Regions from separate parts of the Homo sapiens genome. Here region 1 is linked to region 2. Evidence: promoter capture Hi-C in 16 types of primary human blood cells and fetal thymus (Javierre and others, 2016). All regions are on one chromosome and are shown on one strand. Each heading gives the region's core, a stretch centred on a gene start or on the middle of the fragment in contact. The rest is flanking DNA. Distances are from core to core; before and after follow the strand shown. Region 1 has its middle 53 kb from the start of CDCA2. Region 2 holds the start of EBF2 (EBF transcription factor 2).

Region 1 (5,365 bases), core at 1,167-3,666, 530 kb before region 2:
AAAAAAAAATCTGAAAAATCAAAGCAAGTTAGATGCAGTTTTATCTACCAGGTCTCATTTGTACAAGATGTGTAAAACATTAATAATTTCTGTATTTGGTCATTCTTGTTTTTTGTTTTGTTTTGTTTTTTGTTGTTGTTGTTTTCCCATTTGTTTTCATTCATGGTTAAATCAAAAGCTTGGCTTCAAAATGGTTTTTTTTCCTGCCATGTTTTTTCGTTGCAGTAACTAACCCTTGTTCTTCCATCATGTTTCTGTTCCTGTAGATTCTTGTTTGTTCCAGAAGATGGCAGCACAACCTCTGAAGTTTTTCCTTCTCTGTGCATAACCTAATGGCTGTTGCCTGTGTGGCCCCCTATTTTTACTTTTTTCTTACATAAGTAGTATGTATCAATTGAAAAACACAGAACTGTACGGAATTTAAAAGTGGAAATATGGCATCTATCTTCCTTGCATTCCACGCAGGTGTCATCCAGCCACACCCTCCTCTCTGCAGCTCTCTCTGCAAGCACTTAACACCTGGCATGCACCTTCCAGACCTTTCTTGTATAAACATGCATGCATCGTTTTGTTGTTTTCTAACAGGATCACTATATGTGCCATTCTACCACTTGGTTTTTTTAATTCAACAAAATGCCATGAGTATCCTTTAGTCTTTTTATGGACAGCCCTAGTGCTGCTACTTCAGTCTTTTTTAACCCCTTCATATACCTTGAACATCTGTAATGAAGGTGGTCATCTCCTTACTAATGGATGAATGTCAGTTATCTCCAGCTTTTGCAATTATAGCAGTAAATGTAGCAAATACAAAGCCATATTGGGCTTGTTGAAAATATCTGTAAGATAAATTCCTTGAAATTAAAATGATTACGTTCTCTTCTGTGGATCTTAGCTGGCACATTCCCCTTACACACATTTTGGCATCCTTGCCTTCTTTCTGCCTCTCATTTTCTGTTCCTACTACTTAATGCCATTTTGCTTCCATCTTCTGTCACTACTGCCTCTACTTCCACTTAAGCTGCAGAATTGAGGGTGGGCCTTAGACCTGGTATGTGGAGGAGAGAATGATTAATTATACCTGGTTCATGCTTTAGATTGAAAGAGCTACCTTTCAAAGTCAAGTTTATTGAGGTATAATTAACCTACGGTGAAGTTCGCGTTTTTAAAGCATCCAGAATTTTGGCAAATTTATACAGCCATGTAACCAGTGCCACAATCAAGTAATAGGACATTTCTGTCACCCCAAAATTCCTCCCACCTCTTTGTAGTCAATTTTCTACCTGCCAACCCCGGGTCTTCACAACTGCTCATCTGATTTCTAGTGTTACAGTTCTGTCTTCTCCAGAATGTCATACAAATGAGATCATATAATATATACCCCTTTGTGTCTTTAGCTTAGCGTAATGCTTTTGAGATTCACCCATGCTTGCATGCTGTAAGTAGTTGATACTTGTTTATTGCTGATACTTGTTTATTCCATTTTATAGATGTACCAAAACTTGTTTATCAGTTTACCACTTGATGGATATTTCGATTATTTCTGGTTTGGGGCTAATGTGAATAAAGCTGCTGTAACAATTCACATATGGATCATTTTTTATAGTCACATGTTTTCATTTATCTTGCATAAATATCTAGTGGTAGGGTTCCTGGGCTGTATGGTGGTAGTATTAATATATGTTTACCTTTTTAGGAAACTGCTAAACTTTTCCATAGTGGCTGCATGATTTTGCATTTCCACTGGCAACACGTTTTGTTTGTTCCACATCTTCACCAGCCTCTGGTATTGTTAGCCTTTTTTCATTGTAGCCATTCTAGGATGTGTGCAGTAGTTTCTCATGGGTTTTGATTTATTTCTCTAATGACTAATGATATTGAACATCTTTCCTATGCTTATTTGCCATCTTTATATCTTCCTTGTTGTGATGTCTATCCAAATTTCTTGCCCACGTTTGTTGTTGCTGTTATTGTCTTACTGTTATTGAGTTAAAAGAATCTGTACATTTGGATACACATCCTTTATTGGATATGTCTCTTAAAATATTTTTTCCCATTCTGTGGCTTGTCTTTTTATTTGCTTAGCAGTGTCTTTTGAAGAACAGATTTTCATTTTGATGAAGTCCAGTTTACCTTGTTTTTACTTTAATGGTTCATGCTTTTTGTGTCCTAGCTAAGAAATCTTTGTCTAACTCAAAGGCACAAAGATTTTCTCCTGTGTATTCTTCCAGTTCTATAGTTTTAGCTCTCACTTAAGTGTTAGATCCACATTAATTTTCTTGTGTGAGATGAAGGTGGGTTATTTATTTTTAATGGAAATCATTCAACACCATTTGTTGAAAAGATTAACCATTTCTCATTGAATTACATTGGCACCTCTGTTAAAATTATTTGACCTTATATGTGTAGATCTATTTCTGGACATTATTCTGTTCATCTGTATGTCTATTCTTCTACCAATATACCACTGTGACTATATAAGAAAGTTTTGGATTTTTTAAAATCATAGTTTAGGGGTTTTTTTGGAGGGTAGAGAGGAGGCCAGAAGAAGCAAAAGGTTGACCAGCCACATCTGTCTGGGGCCTTCAGTTATTCCCAGACTTGTAGTACCATTTGGGTGCAAGAAGTGAAGCCAGCAATGACAGGCTATCAGAGACACAACAAGGAAACCAACTTCTCTGGGTGCCTCTGCGTTCAGCCTAGTCCTCTGGAAACTAGTTTACTATGGTTTATGATTTAAAATTTGACCCTAAGTTACTAAAAGATTCAGTCATCAAGAAGTAATTCTCTCTCTGGACACTACTCTGTATAGCAGTAAGAAAATAAGGTGAATTAAAATAAGATTCAAAATTCAATTTGCTAAAAAATTACCTAATAAGCATGACTCATTTATTTTCATAAATTGAAGTTTGTATTATAGTTTGATTTAGTGTAAAACTTAGCCAGGCATGGTGGCTTACACTTGTAATCCCAGCACTTTGGGAGGCCAAGGCAGGAGGATTACTCGAGCCCAGGAGTTTGAGACCAGCCTGGGCAACACGATAAGACCCTTCCTCTACAAAAAAAAAAAAAATTTAAATTAGCTGGGCATGGTTGGTTTCAGCTACTCTGGAGGCTGAGGTAGGGAGGATCGTTTGAGCCCAGGAAGTTGAGGCTACAGTGAGCCATGTTCGTGCCACTGCACTCCAGCCTGAGTGACAGCGAGACCCTTTCTCAAATAAATAATAAATGTCACTGTCCTTACTCAGTAACCTTAGCATTTGAGGATTGTTTCCTAATGTAGGAAAATTTTCCTGCACCAGCTCATTCTAGGTAGGCAGATTATGGACTCATTAATAAAATAATTTGCCAGCCATTTATTCAACAACTACTATGTGCCAGGCATTAATTTCTAAATAAAATTGCTTTCAAGATGCTCAGTTTTCTTTCTGTAAGGGGACAAAATTACAATACAGGGTATGATAAAAAAGAGATACCCCAACCTGTCAGCCCTCCAGGGGGTATCAACCTTCAGATCACGCAAGTTTAGTTTCTTTCCAGAATAAGTGATGCTTGAGCCAAATTCACTAATAGGAGTTTTAGAGGAATGGGGACCCAAAAGGCACATCCCATTCCAAATCTCCTTTGATTATTATTCAATAATTTCATTATTCATTAAACTGAGACTAGGTGATACAGGCTGGCTTCATCTCATGTTTTTCTTTTAAGTATTTTTTAACTTTCATTAAATTCTAACCTATAAATACATCTGGAAAAGCATGGATTTGAAACTAGACTACAAGTTGTGAATTGTACCTAAAATTTTAAAGAAACCTGCTCTGTTCTCAATTGCTTAGGCATTTCTGTCTCATACTATTGGGTGTCTTTGTAGTGTGTCTAAAGGGTTTCACTGTGGGTTTGGAGTCCTAGACCAAGTGAGTGGAATTGGGATTAAATTACAGCAAATAATTGTACATCCCCCTTTTGGGGTGTCTTAAATTTATTTGAAGATTATTGCATAGCCTTGATTTAGCTCTAGAATGGGTTAATTACTAACATACTATGGCCTAATAGTTTCAAGTTTGTCTAATATTGTGCAGGTGTGTTCATTTTTGCATATTCTTTGATGCTTTTCTGTTTATGAAATTGTGTTACAGACTGCGAGTAACATAGCTTAAATGAGAAGATAAGTAATTACTGCCTTTCAACTGATACATATTTCTGTTCCACATCTTCAACCAAGATCATACTTAGCCTGATTTTGATATGACCTTAAAGATTTATTAGAAAGGTTTTTAGAAATTTCTAGGCAATTGAGAAGCAAATATTTTCTGAAACTGCTTTTAATTTTTTGATACTTTGTAAGCGTTATATCTCTTACATGAAAAGAGAAAATAAATAAGCATTTACATTAAAGAAGAATACAGGTTTGCATTTTCTAAAGGGTAAGTTGGGATTTCATCACAAAATTTCCGGTGACCACCTGGAAAGCTGACTAAGTCTTTTTCTCATTTATCCTAGGCATACAAATTGACTATCTTGATTTATGTTCTGTGATAATAAGTTGCCTTCAGGGATGCAAACAGCTAACATTTTGGTTTTAGATGTAATTGAAGAAATGTCAAATTATCTTAAGTTTTTGAAGTTCCAAATTCTTAAGTGTATGTGTGTGAATTTTTAAGCTTGGAATTTAAAAGTACATATATTTGCCATATCTAATAATTTATTCTCATGGTTTATTCACTGTCTTAAAGTTTGCTTTAAAAATTCTTCCACTTTGATAATATTTTATAATGTCAAATACAGTGATCTGATACTGGCATTTCTTTTGCTTTTGAAAAACAAACTGCATTCCCAGTGTTCTCATATCCCAGGTCCTTGTTGAAACAAGGAAGTAAATGTCAATAATTTCTTCTTTTTTCACATCACATAACTGCTAAGTAGCAGGTGCTTGCAAAAATAGGTTCATCCCTATGTCTGATTCAAACATGGGAATAATTTTTCAGTATAAAATGGGGGTCAAACAGTTGAAACGTTATAGAGAAGATGAGTAAAATGGGATTTTTTCAGTTCAAGTACATTTAGTTTGGATGCCAATCACTCGAAAGTAAAATGTAAGATTTTCTGCCTAACGTTTGTACAAAATACAGTATGTCCATTTTCTAATTGTTCACAACAGAGGAATAATCAATAAAGCAGCCAGTCTTGTCTTTTCTTTTTTAAGTAAACGCTGGGAATGAAGATTGCAGAAGTATTCCCTGACTCAAACCTGAAAAACCTGGTGTTAGTCTTGGGTGATTTCCAGTGACCCTCTGCCTCCCTTCTTCCTGCCCCCTGTGTAGATTTGGAACCGGGCAGCCATTTTTGTTTTTGGAAGGGAAAGGAGACA
Region 2 (4,653 bases), core at 70-2,569:
TCTCCAGTTCCCTAGCTCCGTTCGTCTGGCTCACTGTTTTATCTTTGAGCCGGGACCCTCCAGCCTGTCCCCCCTCCCAGAGCTCCCGGCCGCCTCGTCTTCCCGGGCAGCCGCTCCGGCTTTTCCCGCTCCCCTCGCCGCCGCCACCCTCTGGCCGCCGGCCTCCCAGGCTCCAGGAATCGCCCAGCAAGATGCGGGAGGTAGGCGCTCGCAGGCGGCGTGGCGAAGCCAAGAGTGGCCAGGAAGCCGGCTTTCCTCCCGCGCCGCCACTGCCAGCGCCGGTGTTCACGCTCCGTTCGGGGCCAGGCCGGCTCGGCTTGCAGGACTAGGGGCTGAGCTGGGAGATGTTGGGGGCTACTTTATTTTTCCTTGCAAAGAGTGGACTGTGGTAAAGGAGAGGGAGAGAAACGCCTACGACCCAGGCAGTTCAGGAACTCGAGTGCCGGCTGCCGGGTGAGCGTTCGCCTGACTGCAGCGATCTGCTTGCCCGAGGGCGAGCCCCAGCGCGCAGGGCCTGGGCGACAGATGGGGGGACAGGGAGAGAGAAAGGCACGGGGTGCGCGGGGGGGGTGCACACGGAGAGACAGACCGTAAGAGCGAGAGACAGCATAATAATTGCGCGGCCGTGTCGTTACCTCTGCGCGGCGACATTAGCGTCCACCACTCCGACATTCCGGACCCAGGACCTGACCGAATCCATCTCCGCGCCCAGCGATTTCTCTTTCAGAGTTGGTCCTCTTCCTAAAGTATCTTGAATTCCAAACATTTAAAAAGTCTGATCCTCTACTGTCGCTTTAAAAGTAAGAGTTACAACACAGTCCTGACTGTTCCCAACGTTGCCAGCAAATCGTCTCCTCCAAAGCAATCCAAGAAAAGGGATCAAGTGCCCAAGTTTGAGTCTTAGAAAAAAAAAAAAGATAACCCGTCCTTTGCTTCACTGGCGAGGTGCGGACTGATGTAGTCAAAGTTTGGGTTCTTATCCTCCGCAAGTTCAGATCTGCCGCCTCAGCCACTCCACCCTAGGTCGCTCGCATCCTTCCAGCTGCAGTGCTGCCTCCTGAAAGTGATCACAATTTAGAAGCATCACCTGTTCTGGGAGAAACTGGAGGAAATTGATGGCTGCCTAATCTCTCCCCTTCCTCCAGGTCCCCCCTCCCTGCTCCTCCCCACCGTTCCAATTTAGAAAAAAAAAAAATCCCCAACAGGATCAGTTGTAAAAAGAAGGGGAAGACCTGGAGCCGAGAGGAGGCGGTGGCTGCGAGCGCCACGGAGCCCGGCTGCAGCCGCGCGCGGGCCCCATGAATGGGTTACTACGGCCCTGGCTGCGGGAGGCGGAGCTGCGGCCCGATAAGGAGCCTCATTTGCATGGACGCGCGGGATTGGCCGGCGCCTGGCAAGCCGGGCCGACGTCCTCCGGCGGCGCGCGCCACGCTCTGCGTTGCCGGGACTCCGGGAGGTGAAAGGGGACAGAAAGCTGCGGGCGTCGAGTCCTAGCACGAACCCCGTGTGCTTGCGCAGGATTGGGGGGCCCCCACACCCTGCACTGACTTAGGGTAGCAGGTCTCTGCGGGCTGGGGACGCAGGGGTTCGGCCTGGCTGCGGGAAGCCTCCCTGGATCCTGCCTCTAGATGTAGGCTTTTGTAGCCTGCCGGGAGGCACGTTCGTTCCCGGGGTTCGGATCTGTGTGCATGCTTGTGAGCGTGGCCACATGTGCTTATGTTTTGCGCAAACGTCCCCCAGAGCACCCAGCTCCCTGAATGGCTCCCCAGGTCTCCTGGAGTTCCATGGTGATATCAGATGTTGTGTGCGGCTTGCACGTTGCTGAGAGTGGAGAACATATGAAAGAAGGCGGGGGATGGGGTGGGGCGGACAAGCGAGGGGCAAGTGCTGCTCAAATACAGTGCTGGGGAAAACGGTCCAGGACCTAAGGAAAACACCCGCGGGCGGGCGGGCGCGAGCGGCAGTCGCACCCGTGTGGAGGAGAGGTTGCTGACAGATCGAGGCGGGCTGAGTGCGCGAGCGGCCGGGGAGTATTCCCGCGGGTCCTCCGGTTCCCTCCCCACCTCTCCGTTCCCGAAGCCCCCGGTAGTGGGCGGGGAGGGACGGGGGAGTCGTGGAAACTTCGCCCACCGCGCGCGGTCGCCGCGGTGCTGGCCGCGGGCTGGTGGCCGGCAGGCGGTGGCAGCAGCCTCACCGAACAGCTGAAACCCTAGACGGTTTTTTAACTGCGCGGGGCTGCTCGCGGTGCCTATTAAACATCCTCCTGGCTGGGTGTCATTTTCTTGCTTCTCCTTTTGTATTCTGATCTGCGCATAGATCTGCTGCTGCTGAAATCTAGAACACCAGCGCGAAAACAGATTTGAAGACAATGAATGCAAATCTGTGCTCAAAGACCATCTGCCGTGGAGGAGACAATCAGCTGTTCGTAGTTCGAGCGATTGCGCCCCAGTCTCCCGGTCTCATTACGGGGAGGGCATTTGCGAGCGCCTGGACTGCGTTCAGGGCACTTTCTCCCCTCTTGGGTCTCAGATTTGAGAGACCAGATCCCTTAGGTGTAGGTGAGCGCTCGCAAATGAACTGCTAGAGTTTGCCGCTAGAGGACACAGCGCCTTGCAACTGGTTTGCCTAGGCTGACAGGAAGCTTGCACTTCAAGAAAACTCGGCTCTCTCGAGAAAGGGACCGGTGCGCGCCTCCACCTCCCCAAGGGACAAACCGCGGCACCACGCTGCGTGCGCGGGATTGCGACTAGGAAGTGCTGGTCCGAACTGCGGAGATTCGCTTGAAAACGGATAGGGGGTTAGGGAGTTTGCGGGGCGGGTGCACGGACCGTCTCTGCACAGGCCCCGGGATCCAGGGACTGGGGTCATTGATTTGGGGGAAGGTAGAGAAGGTAAACCCCCCGCCTCTGGGTTGTGTTGACTGTGGTACCCCGACCCCAGAGCTCTGGCTTGGTCCTCCCTGTTGGACTGGAAGGGGCGGGAGAGCCATACAGGGCGATTGGGAAATGGATCGGGTGGCTAGTAAAAGCCAAGTAAGACAGGAGTGTCCAAAGGAAGAAGGGGGTAGGGAGGGAAATTTGTAGGGATGAGATTCACTGCCCTGTTTCAACTCGGCAATTCTCTGTTACATGCAGGTTTTACGGAGAATTTCGGTCCCAGCAAAAACTGATCACCTGGAGTCTTCTACGGTCTCTCTTTATAAATCTCTCCGAACCTCAAGCAACTCCCCCCCACCCCCTTCGTCTGGGGTCTGCGCCCAGCGGGGCCAAAGCCTTGAGTTCCTTGGCAGAGAGTGTGGAACAGCCGTGAGCCCTTCAAGACATGCCTATGAGCCCGGTGATTTTTTTTTCAAGGGGGCTTTGATCAGCTGTACCTCCACGTTGCCCCGGAAAGGTGCGCAGGGCACCCGGAGAGGCCTCTGGTCAGCAGTGGGCCTGGGCCAAGCCCCAACAGTTTACCCCTCAGGCTCAGGTTGGCTGGGGTTAAAGGGCAAAGTCAGGGTCGAGGGCACCAGCTTTTCTCGGCGGTAACAGCTGCCACCCAAATTATGCCCCCTCAGGAAGCGAATGAATTGTTCCTTTCTCCCAGCTCCCTGCTGCCCGCCCCAAAACAGACGGGGCCGCGCTCGGCGGGCGCCCCTCCTCCCAGCCAACCCCCCGAGACGCGCTCAGGGGCCTCGGTGCCCCGCTGGGAGGCAATTTGGGGGAGCCGTGGTCCCGAACTTTGACAGAGTGGGGCTTCCCCACTACTTGCCGGCTGCGCTAAGGGCGCCCCCCGCGGCAGTGCTGCTGGGAGCTCCAGGGATGGCTGTGTGGCTCGCTGCGGGCGTTGAAGTTCCCTGTTGGCCAGGCTGAAGTGCCTGCGCGAGCGTGAGGGGACAAGGACTGCCTTGGGCCCAGCGTGGCGGCGTTTCGGCCAACCCAGTTGGGGTTAATTGCGTCTGTATAGGTTTTGGGTAGGAATGCTCGCGGAGTCCGCCACCCGCGCGAAACATGCGTTGGTTGGGGGAATGAGCAGCGGCGGCTGCGCCTGGAGGGTTGCTCCCACCTCTGTCGCCTCCAGCTACCCCCAAACAAACCTCCTTTTCGATCTCGTGCAACACAAAACCTGCCCCGAGCTGTGCGGGGGCCTGGCAAGCGCAGCTGCGGCCCCGGGAAGCCCAATCCCGCGGGACTGCGGAGCCCACGCGCTCCTCAGGCTCCGGCCAACTAGCTCGGTTCTGCCTCTAGCCCGGGTCAAGAAAAATCCAAAATGAACACTATGATTAAAATTATTCACAATCTATTTATACAAAACTGGGGGTGTCTGTCTTTTACCCTGTCCCCTTCTTCATTTACCCTTCCCAAATGACCCTCACCCCCGTTTTTTTCATGTTTCTGTTTCACGTCTGCAACCCAGTGCGGTATGTTCGATTTCCTTTTAATTGGTTTTAAGCCCCTTTGCTCAATCTCGTCCGGTCCAGTCATCTGGGCGCCAAGTCTCTCCTCCCGATCAGAGGTTCGGAAATTTTACTTAGAAACTGCTCTCCTGGCTGTGTTCCTGTCCGGCAGGACACTGGGGTGAATTCAGAGATGTCAGAACACACCCCTAAATACGACCTTCACCCCCTCTTCCAGACACACACCCCCTGCGCCGAAGCACAGAGCCAGACAG

What was found. The method cuts DNA at HindIII sites, captures the fragments that hold promoters and counts their contacts. A CHiCAGO score of 5 or more calls a contact.
Region 1: a fragment that was not itself captured here is called in contact with the fragment with the promoter of EBF2 in region 2 in 1 of 17 cell types (M0 macrophages); the score reaches 5.6 in M0 macrophages.

What each region holds. Positions count from the first base shown.
Region 1 is chr8:25,509,727-25,515,091 of GRCh38, forward strand. No RefSeq gene overlaps it. Among named protein-coding and RNA genes, the nearest start is that of CDCA2, 53 kb to the left of the region's middle. The HindIII fragment of the contact is 4,480 bases long and covers 177-4,656 here.
Region 2 is chr8:26,044,094-26,048,746 of GRCh38, forward strand. EBF2 (EBF transcription factor 2) reads right to left here and starts at 1,320. Exons shown (of 16, transcript NM_022659.4): 1 at 636-1,320. The coding sequence starts at 766. RefSeq lists an enhancer at 3,836-4,628. The HindIII fragment of the contact is 12,164 bases long and covers 1-2,639 here.